2 separate regions of the Homo sapiens genome follow, and region 1 is linked to region 2. The links are contacts of gene promoters, found by promoter capture Hi-C in blood cells and fetal thymus (Javierre and others, 2016). All regions are on one chromosome and are shown on one strand. Each heading gives the region's core, a stretch centred on a gene start or on the middle of the fragment in contact. The rest is flanking DNA. Distances are from core to core; before and after follow the strand shown. Region 1 has its middle 5.7 kb from the start of NAP1L4. Region 2 holds the start of MRGPRG-AS1 (MRGPRG antisense RNA 1).

Region 1 (3,989 bases), core at 1,105-3,604, 220 kb before region 2:
GCCAAGCCAATGGCCTGGGCCCAGCCAGCCTATTGTCACTGCAGGCCCTCGGACCCAGCCTGGGGAGACTGGAGGAAGTCAGGGAAGGGCAGAGAGAAGGCGCACCGGGCAGTGGGCCCTCAGAACGGGGAAACTCCAGGCAGAAAAGCGGCCCAGAATCACTCTGAATTGGGGGGCGTGAAACAGGGGCCACAGCCTGGCCCTACTGCAGTCCAGGTGGAGCCAGGCCTTCACCAGCTGTGGGGACCAGGCGTGCCCCTGGCAATCTGGATACGTTTTTGTGCAGCCACCACTGGAAATGGGGCACACGCCACTCCTTCTTGCCTCCTTGGATGGCACCGCGGCTTTGGGCCAACCTCCGCTCACCCCAGTGGTGGCAGCTAAAGACAAGGGTATTTCCTCATGGCCCAGTTGTCAGGATATTTGATACATGGTTTCCAGCACAGGCCAGTAAAGAGGATACACTGTGGAAGGGATTGCTGCTGCTGCAGTGCCGGCTGCACTTCATCAGTTTCCTTGGCTAAAGGATACTGAGTTACAGGTTTCAGGCTACTTTGTATCTCATTAAAGACACCTCTCCATGCAGCCGCCATTATCACACTAACAAAATTAGCAAAAATCTTGACTGTCATCCAATACCTGGTCATTCAAATTTCTTGAAATTTTTTTTTTTTTTTTTTTTTTGAGACGGAGTTTCGCTCTTGTTGCCCAGGCTGGAGTGCAATGGCGAGATCTCGGCTCACCGCAACCTCCACCTCCCGGGTTCGAGCGATTCTCCCGCCTCAGCCTCCGGAGTAGCTGGCATGTGCCACCATGCCCAACTAATTTTTTTGTATTTTTAGTAGAGACAGGGTTTCTCCATGTTGGTCAAGCTAGTCTTGAACTCTCCACCTCAGGTGATCCGCCTGCCTCAGCCTCCCAAAGTGCTGGGATTACAGGCATGAGCCACTGTGCCCGACCCCCTTTGAAATGTCTTTACAGCAGGTTTGTTCAAATCCTTCAAAGATTATCCCTCAAACCTGGTGGTTTTGTTTCTCGAGTCTCTCCCAGTCCTTCTCTTCTGCCCTATTCTGCTCCCTTTGACGCAGACGTATTGAAGATGCCAGCCGGGCATCTGGCAGAATGCCCCACCTTCTGCACAAATGTGGTGGCTGCTTCATGGCCTCACCTGCATTCTCCCTCTGTTCCCAGTATTTCCTGCAGACAGGAAGTGAGCTGGACAGCCTTGCTCCTGAGGGGGCTGTAGCCCGGCAGCACAGGCCACAGCTGGGAGACTGCAGGAATGCAGAATCTTGGGCTCCTCCTAGACCTGAACTGAAATTTGTGTTAACAAGCAACCCTGGGCAGTTTATACGCACATTCAAGGTTAAGGAGCCCTAGCCTAAAAGCTGCATTCAATACTGACTTATACTTTTAGAGGAAATCCTTCTTTTTGTTGGGGGGCTGACAGCCAGGGCCCAACATCAGAAAGTAACACGTATCCCCTCCTGGAAACCTACAAGTTACTCACAAGGTGACACTTTGGCATCAAATTATCCAGCACCTACCAGCTTTCATCCAGGGGTCTCAGCATCCGCGGTCAGCCCCTGCCTGAATCAATGACTTCATTCGGGGTTGCAGAATGGAGATGTCTGATCCTGGTGCTTCTTCCCTTAGCTGGCATCTTTGGGGGAAAGAACAACTTTCCCCTTTCAGCTAGGGCCATTTGGTGGCCCTGAAATATACTTCCCATGCAAGGTAAAATACTTGCTTCTGTCACTAATGAGTAACTCTACAGAAAGGAGCTGACACAGGCCACCTCCAGTAACGACAATATGTTTTAGCTTTCTCTAGTTTTGAGAATAAATACAGATGCCTGGAGTTTTTTTTTTGTTTGTTTGTTTTTGTTTTTTGTTTTGAGACAGAGTCTTGCTCTGCCATCCAGACTGGAGTGCAGTGGTATGATCGCAGCTCACTTGCAGCCTCCACCTCCCATGCTCAGGCAATCCTCCAACCTCAGCCTCCTGAGTAGCTGGGATCACAAGTGCGCCACTACACCGGCTAATTTTTTTGACTTTTAGTAGAGACAGGGTCTCGCTATGTTGCCCTGGCTGGAATCATTCTTTTCAATGCTCAAATTGTCCCAAACTTAGCCAGTAGGAGCTCCTGAAGCCTTAAAGTAATTATAGGTTTCCAGAAAACTGCACAGTTTGTTTCCTGATGGTCACACCTTGCCTGGCCAGAGTTCAAGATCAACACAGGAGACTGACATTGGTACAATGTGTGTGACTCTACGTTGTGCTATCACATATGCAGATTTGTGTGATCACCATGGAAACAAGAACACAGAAGTGCCCTCCCCACCAACCCCACCTCCTACTGTCCCTGTGCAGTCACTCCCCTCCACCTGCCCCCGCCCCCCCACCATCTTTAACCCCAGCTACCACCATCTGTTCTCTATTCCTACTTGAGAATGTTATCTACGTGGAATCACATGGCATGCAACCTTTCAGGGGTGGCTTTTCCAAACCCAGCAGAATGCCCCTGACACATACCACCCAGCTGCTATGTGTCACTACCTTGTCCAGTGTCCTCCTGACCTGACTTCTTGGTGTTCGAAAGCTCCCCTTTTGGGGCACAAGAGTGCCTGGGCTCAGCTACTCCTGCTGCTGCAGACCTGGAACTGGCCATTTCTCCAGGGGGTGGGATGGGGTTTAGAGCCCCAGATCGGGGCTGGGGCTGCTCAGTGCCACCAGGGCTGCCTTGCTTCTCCACCCTTCCCATCTACACAGTCAGGAAACAATCTACTTTTTAAAATCACAAGTTACTTCATATTGTTTTTTCTAATTCGTATTTAATAGTAAAGTGATTTTCCTTGACTTCTTTGATATTTTATCGTCTTACATTAAAAACTTGATTGCTAGGCTGGGCGCAGTGGCTCACACCTGTAATCCCAGCACTTTGGGAGGCTGAGGCGGGCGGATCACTTGAGGTCAGGAGTTCAAGACCAGCCTGGCCAATATGGTGAAACCCCATCTCTACTAAAAATACAAAAATTAGCTGGGCATGGTGGCGCGTGTCTGTGATCCCAACTACTTGGGAGGCTGAGGCAGAAGAATAGCTTGAACCCGGGAGGCGGAGGTTGCAGTGAGCTAAGATTGCTTCCCTGCACTCCAGCCTGGGTGTCAGTGATCTTATTTGTGTTGGCATACAGGGTTTGAAAATTATAATGCCAATGTTATTACTAACAACAAAACTATTGAATTGACTTTTCTGTACTTTCTTTGACCTTAGAAGATACCCCATTAAAGATGTGTAGCAAAAAATGGCCAATTCTCAGAAAGTTGAAGTTCTTTTCTTGAGGTTGCCAATTTGATTTATGTTTTTGTGCCAGATGGTACTTTCTGAAATAGCTGCAGTAGTATTTCCCATCCCTTCTGGAACCCAGTAATGCCCACCACAGGGTAGTGTCTATGCCTCCCCCTCCGCACGAACGTGGGTGGGCCTTGTGACGGCCTCCGCTAGGGAGGACGGTGGAAGTCAGGACATGACCTCCGAGGTTAGATCCTAAAAGGCCATATAGCTCCTGTCTCTCTCTCTCTCAGGACTCGCACCTTTGGAGCTATAGGCTGTTGCAACAGAAATCAGCCACCGTGAAGCCGCCAAGCTGGAGAGATCACACACAGGTCTCACAGAGGTAAAAGGTGCCCAAGCAGCCCTAGTGTGGGACCCAGGCACAAACTTAGAGATGACCCCATCTGCCTGCAACTGAAAACCAATCAACTGAGCCCAGTCAATCCAGAGCCATGAGTTATTAACATGATCATTGTTGTTTTCAGCCATGAAGTTTTGGGGTGATTTGTTAAGTGGCAACAGATAACTGGAACATGTTTGTTTTACTTTGTTTGGGGGACTTTTCTTTCTTGCTGGTTTAAATTTTTTTATATATAAAATACTGACAAGGTTCAAAGTCAGGCCTATCAATACCCAGAGACTGTCCTCATTGATTT
Region 2 (3,990 bases), core at 1,246-3,745:
CACCATCAGCAGCCAGCCGCCTTCCTGTCCTGCTGCACACAGATGGATGGCCCCATAGGGGGCCCTGCAGCTATTTCCTGGGCTGGGAGGATGGGACAGATCCTGTAGGTTTCACCTCTGAAACTGTCCCCACCCTTATCCCATTTCCAGGTCTTTCAGGAAGGAGGCCACACAGCTCCTGGGGTCTTGTGTGAAGTGTCACAAGAATGAACAACCCTTCCCACCCTGCCCTCAAAGCCTAAGCCTCCCCCTGCCACCAGGGCTCAGGCTTTCCCGTCCCCCTGAGCCCCCCAGATGGCCTTTAGACCAACAGTGCTCACACTCCCGTCCCTCTGAGCCCCCCAGATGGCCTTCAGACCAACAGTGCCCACACTCCCATCCTCCTGAGCCCCCCAGATGGCCTTCAGACCAACAGTGCCCACACTCCCTGCTGAGCTTCCAGTCCTGAGAGCACGGTCTAGGGAGAACTGGCAGCGGGCAGGCGGGCACGGGACTTGGCGTGGCCAGAACACATTCATCCCGGGGAAGGAAGAAAAACCAGCAAAGGTGCGTGCCTCTGGGTTGGGGGACTACATGTAAGCTTTTCTTCTTTCCAGTTGTTAACCTTCTTCAAAGTTTCCATAAACGAGCAACGTTTTACTTTTCTAGTGGAAAAAGAACAACTTTATGCAAAGGCAGCTGCAGAATGTCCCACCCGGCACCAAGAGCACCCATTGAATGCCTTCATTTGGGCAAAAAAGAAAATTTCTGCAGGTCTTTATTTAAAAAAATACATAACTGGAGTGCTTTTCATCAAAAATGTCCCCATTTGGGTGGAAAAAAATTTTGGCGATTTCTCTTTTTAGTATTTTCCGTAGGGCTTGAATGTTTTAAAAATGACCAGAAAGTATTTTATTTCATGGTCAGAAAACACATCAAATGGTTTGCACTTTGGAAACTTGGATCCCCTTCCTTCCTTCCTTCCTTCCTCGCTTCCTTCCTCCCTCCCTCCTCCCCTCCCCTCCCCTTCTCTCTTCTCTTCTCTTCTCTTTCTTTCTTTCTTGCTTTCTTGCTTTCTTGCTTTCTTGCTTTCTTTCTTTCTTTTTCCTTCCTTTCTTCCTTCCTTTCTTTCTTTCTTTCTTTCTTTCTTTCTTTCTTTCTTTCTTTCTTTCTTTTTCCTTCCTTCCTTCTTTCCTTCTTTTCTTTTCTCTCTCTCTCTTTCTCTCTCTCTCTGTCTCTCTCTCTCTCTCTGTCTCTCTCTCTCTCTCTCCAAAGCAAACACTTGGGGCAAAAGCTCCAGATGATCCAGGGCTGAGGAGGGAGGGTGAGAGCAGAGGTGGGAGACGGGAGCAACCCGCAGAGAGCGGATGGCCCTGGGGACGCAGGAGAGGCCGGGTGGGGACCAGTGTGGGAGGGGATGGGAGGGGACCGAGGGGATGGAGGCTCCTGCATCCGCCGGCCCACGGGGCTGGGTCTGTTCTGTGCAGAAGCAGCACCACCTGGTGGCCTCTGCTGGTGACATCAGGCACCTGCCAGTCCTGGGCCTCAGAGAGGGGGACAGAGCCCTGGGTGTGGTCCCCGCGGGGTGGGCAGGACAATGATGGCTGAGCAGGGCGGGGAGTAAGGAGTAGTTCCACCTCAACTCTGTAGGGGGCGAATCAGAGCCTCAGCCAGCAGGTGGCATGGACGGCGCCCACCTAGCCCAGGAGTCCGGAAGCCTGGGTTCCAATCCGGCCACTGTGGGCTGGTGGCTGGCTCTGTTTTATTGTGCAGTTTTCTCCCCTGTGACTCAGGTGCAGCAGGGTGGGGAGGGGCCGGGTAAGGGGATCTGGGCTGGGCCTGGGGGCGTGGTGCCTGTCCTCACCCCTATTCAGGAGGCTTCTCCTTTCTCTCTCCTTGCCTGACCTCTCTCCAGCTCCATTTTCTGCCTCCCTCATCCTCAGCAGGCCTGGCTGGGGGGTGGTCAGGGCCAAGTCTCTCCAGCTGTGTCCAGCCCTTGGGTGCTCAGGGTAAGAGCTAGGTGGTGGGCGGGGCTCCTCCTGGTCCTGAAAGCATCTGGGTGTGGGGTGAGCGAGGGTCGGTGGGGGTGGGCACCTCCTGGCAGGCCCTGTGGGCGGGGCAAGCCCACTTATAGGAGACCCATGGGCAGGGACTGTCCCCTGGCACCCAGCTCGGCGCCCTCCCCCAGGGCCCTCCGCAGTACCGACCTCAGCGGCTCCCGCTTCCCGGGCTGTCGGCCCAACCCCGAGTAGATGAGGGGCTTGGAGCTGCTGTTGACGCAGGCCAGCAGCGTGGCCAGCGGGGAAAACACGGGCAGCAGGAAGTTCAGCAGGGGCTGCAGGCTCCAGTAGAAGACCGAGGGCAGGCCACAGAAGAAGAGCAGGAGCAGCGCGCCCAGGACGATGCCGTAGAGCCTGGGCCGCGGGCGAGTGGAGCAGCAGGTCACCCAGACAAAGAGGACCACGCCAGCCGTCCAGGCGACGCGGGCCAGCACCAGGAACCAGGTGACGCTGGCCACGTGGTAGCGCGGGCAGACCAGGGGGCACGCGCTGTTGCGCAGCAGGCCGCAGGCGTTGGCGGGCAGCGGCACGGCCGGCAGGGTCGGGGTCCACACCAGGGCGCAGAGGACGGCCGAGGCGTGTCTGGGCCGGCAGCCCTGGTAGCAGGCGGGGAAGAGGTCGGAGAGGCAGCGCTCCACGCTGAAGGCCGCCAGCAGCCAGAGCCCCACCGCGAACCACAGGAAGGTGAGCACGAAGTAGAGTGTGTCCTGGGCGCCCAGGGCAGCCTGAGCCACGGAGAAGCCCACACGGCAGGAGAGGAACAGGAAGTCGGCGGCGGCCAGGTGCAGCAGGTAGATGGAGAAGGGGCCCTTCTTGATGCGGAAGCCGAGGTTCCAGAGCACCAGCCCGTTACCTACCGGTCCCCCGAGGCCCACGATCAGCGTCAGGTAGAAGACCACACTGTCGAAGGTTCTCCAGAGGCCGAACAGCCCAAACATCCTGGCCGGCTCAGAGGGTGCTGGCGAGGGACCTGCAAGATGGAGACAGACATGGTCCTCAGGAGTCTTTTGTGCCCCCGCTGGGGGCACAGGGAGTGGCATCCATGGCCCTGCAGGTGCCCTCTGGGTGCAGCCCCTGGACCACCCTTCCCAGCGGCGGGACCTCAGCCGGGTCTCAGCCCTCTGCACCTCAGGTCAGGCGTGCCTAATGCCTCCCCATACCTGAGGGCAGGCCCTGGGCTCCTGGCAGGGTGGACTAACTTGCTGAAAAGATGTCCATGTCCCTCATGGATGTGGTGAGGGTGATGCTGCACCCTCCACCGTGTGCCAGACAAGGGTCTGCAGACAGAGGGAACGTGCATGGGGAACCCACGTGTGGCGCCTTCCTCTTCCCCCAGAGGTGGGAGCTTCTCCACGGTGGACCCTCATGGGGCTCCCACCTGGTGAGCCTAGACCAGCCTGCTGGCGAAGTCCCCTCCCCGGAGGGTCTCTGGAGGTGTCCAGGGAGGTGCCCAAAGGCAGAGGCTGCAGGTGGTCTGAGGAGGAGGGAGGAGGGAAGATGCGGTGTGAGGAGCTGGAGGGAGCCCCCAGCCTTCCCTGTGCACTCCTGGCCTAAGCAGAAGCTGAATCCCGGGGCTCATGCTGCCGGCGGTGCACTCAGGAGGCTGCTCTGAAGCCTCAAGCCAAGAGAGGGGCTTTGGTGATGGTGGCAGGGCCAGGGGGCCTCTCCAGGAGCCACTAACACAAGGGGAGGGGCAGATACAAGTGGCCACTTGCAAGGAGCGAGGCTGAGAGTCCCGAGGATGTTCTCAGAGTGCGAGAGAGATTGGCCACCGGAAGCTGCGCTGAAAGGCAGAGGGTCTCAGAGCAGCCCTTCCCTTTCCAGCCATCCCTCCTCCCCCAGGATCCACATGGGTCATGTTCTTAGTCCTGGGAGATGCATCAGGACCAGGCTCAGCAGTGGCGGCGTCAGCGGTGAGAGACACGGGAGAGAGAAGAGAGATAGAGAGAGA

What was found. Contacts are between HindIII fragments. The CHiCAGO score rates a contact against its expected background, and 5 or more counts as called.
Region 1: a fragment that was not itself captured here is called in contact with the fragment with the promoter of MRGPRG-AS1 in region 2 in 3 of 17 cell types (M2 macrophages, M1 macrophages and erythroblasts); the score reaches 7.6 in M2 macrophages.

The regions. Positions count from the first base shown.
Region 1 is chr11:2,996,041-3,000,029 of GRCh38, forward strand. No RefSeq gene overlaps it. Among named protein-coding and RNA genes, the nearest start is that of NAP1L4, 5.7 kb to the left of the region's middle. The HindIII fragment of the contact is 5,453 bases long and covers 1-3,989 here.
Region 2 is chr11:3,215,837-3,219,826 of GRCh38, forward strand. It overlaps MRGPRG-AS1 (MRGPRG antisense RNA 1), which reads left to right and starts at 2,496. Exons shown (of 2, transcript NR_027138.1): 1 at 2,496-2,723. MRGPRG (MAS related GPR family member G) reads right to left here and starts at 2,977. Exons shown (of 1, transcript NM_001164377.1): 1 at 2,108-2,977. The coding sequence starts at 2,977. The coding sequence ends at 2,108. The HindIII fragment of the contact is 7,931 bases long and covers 579-3,990 here.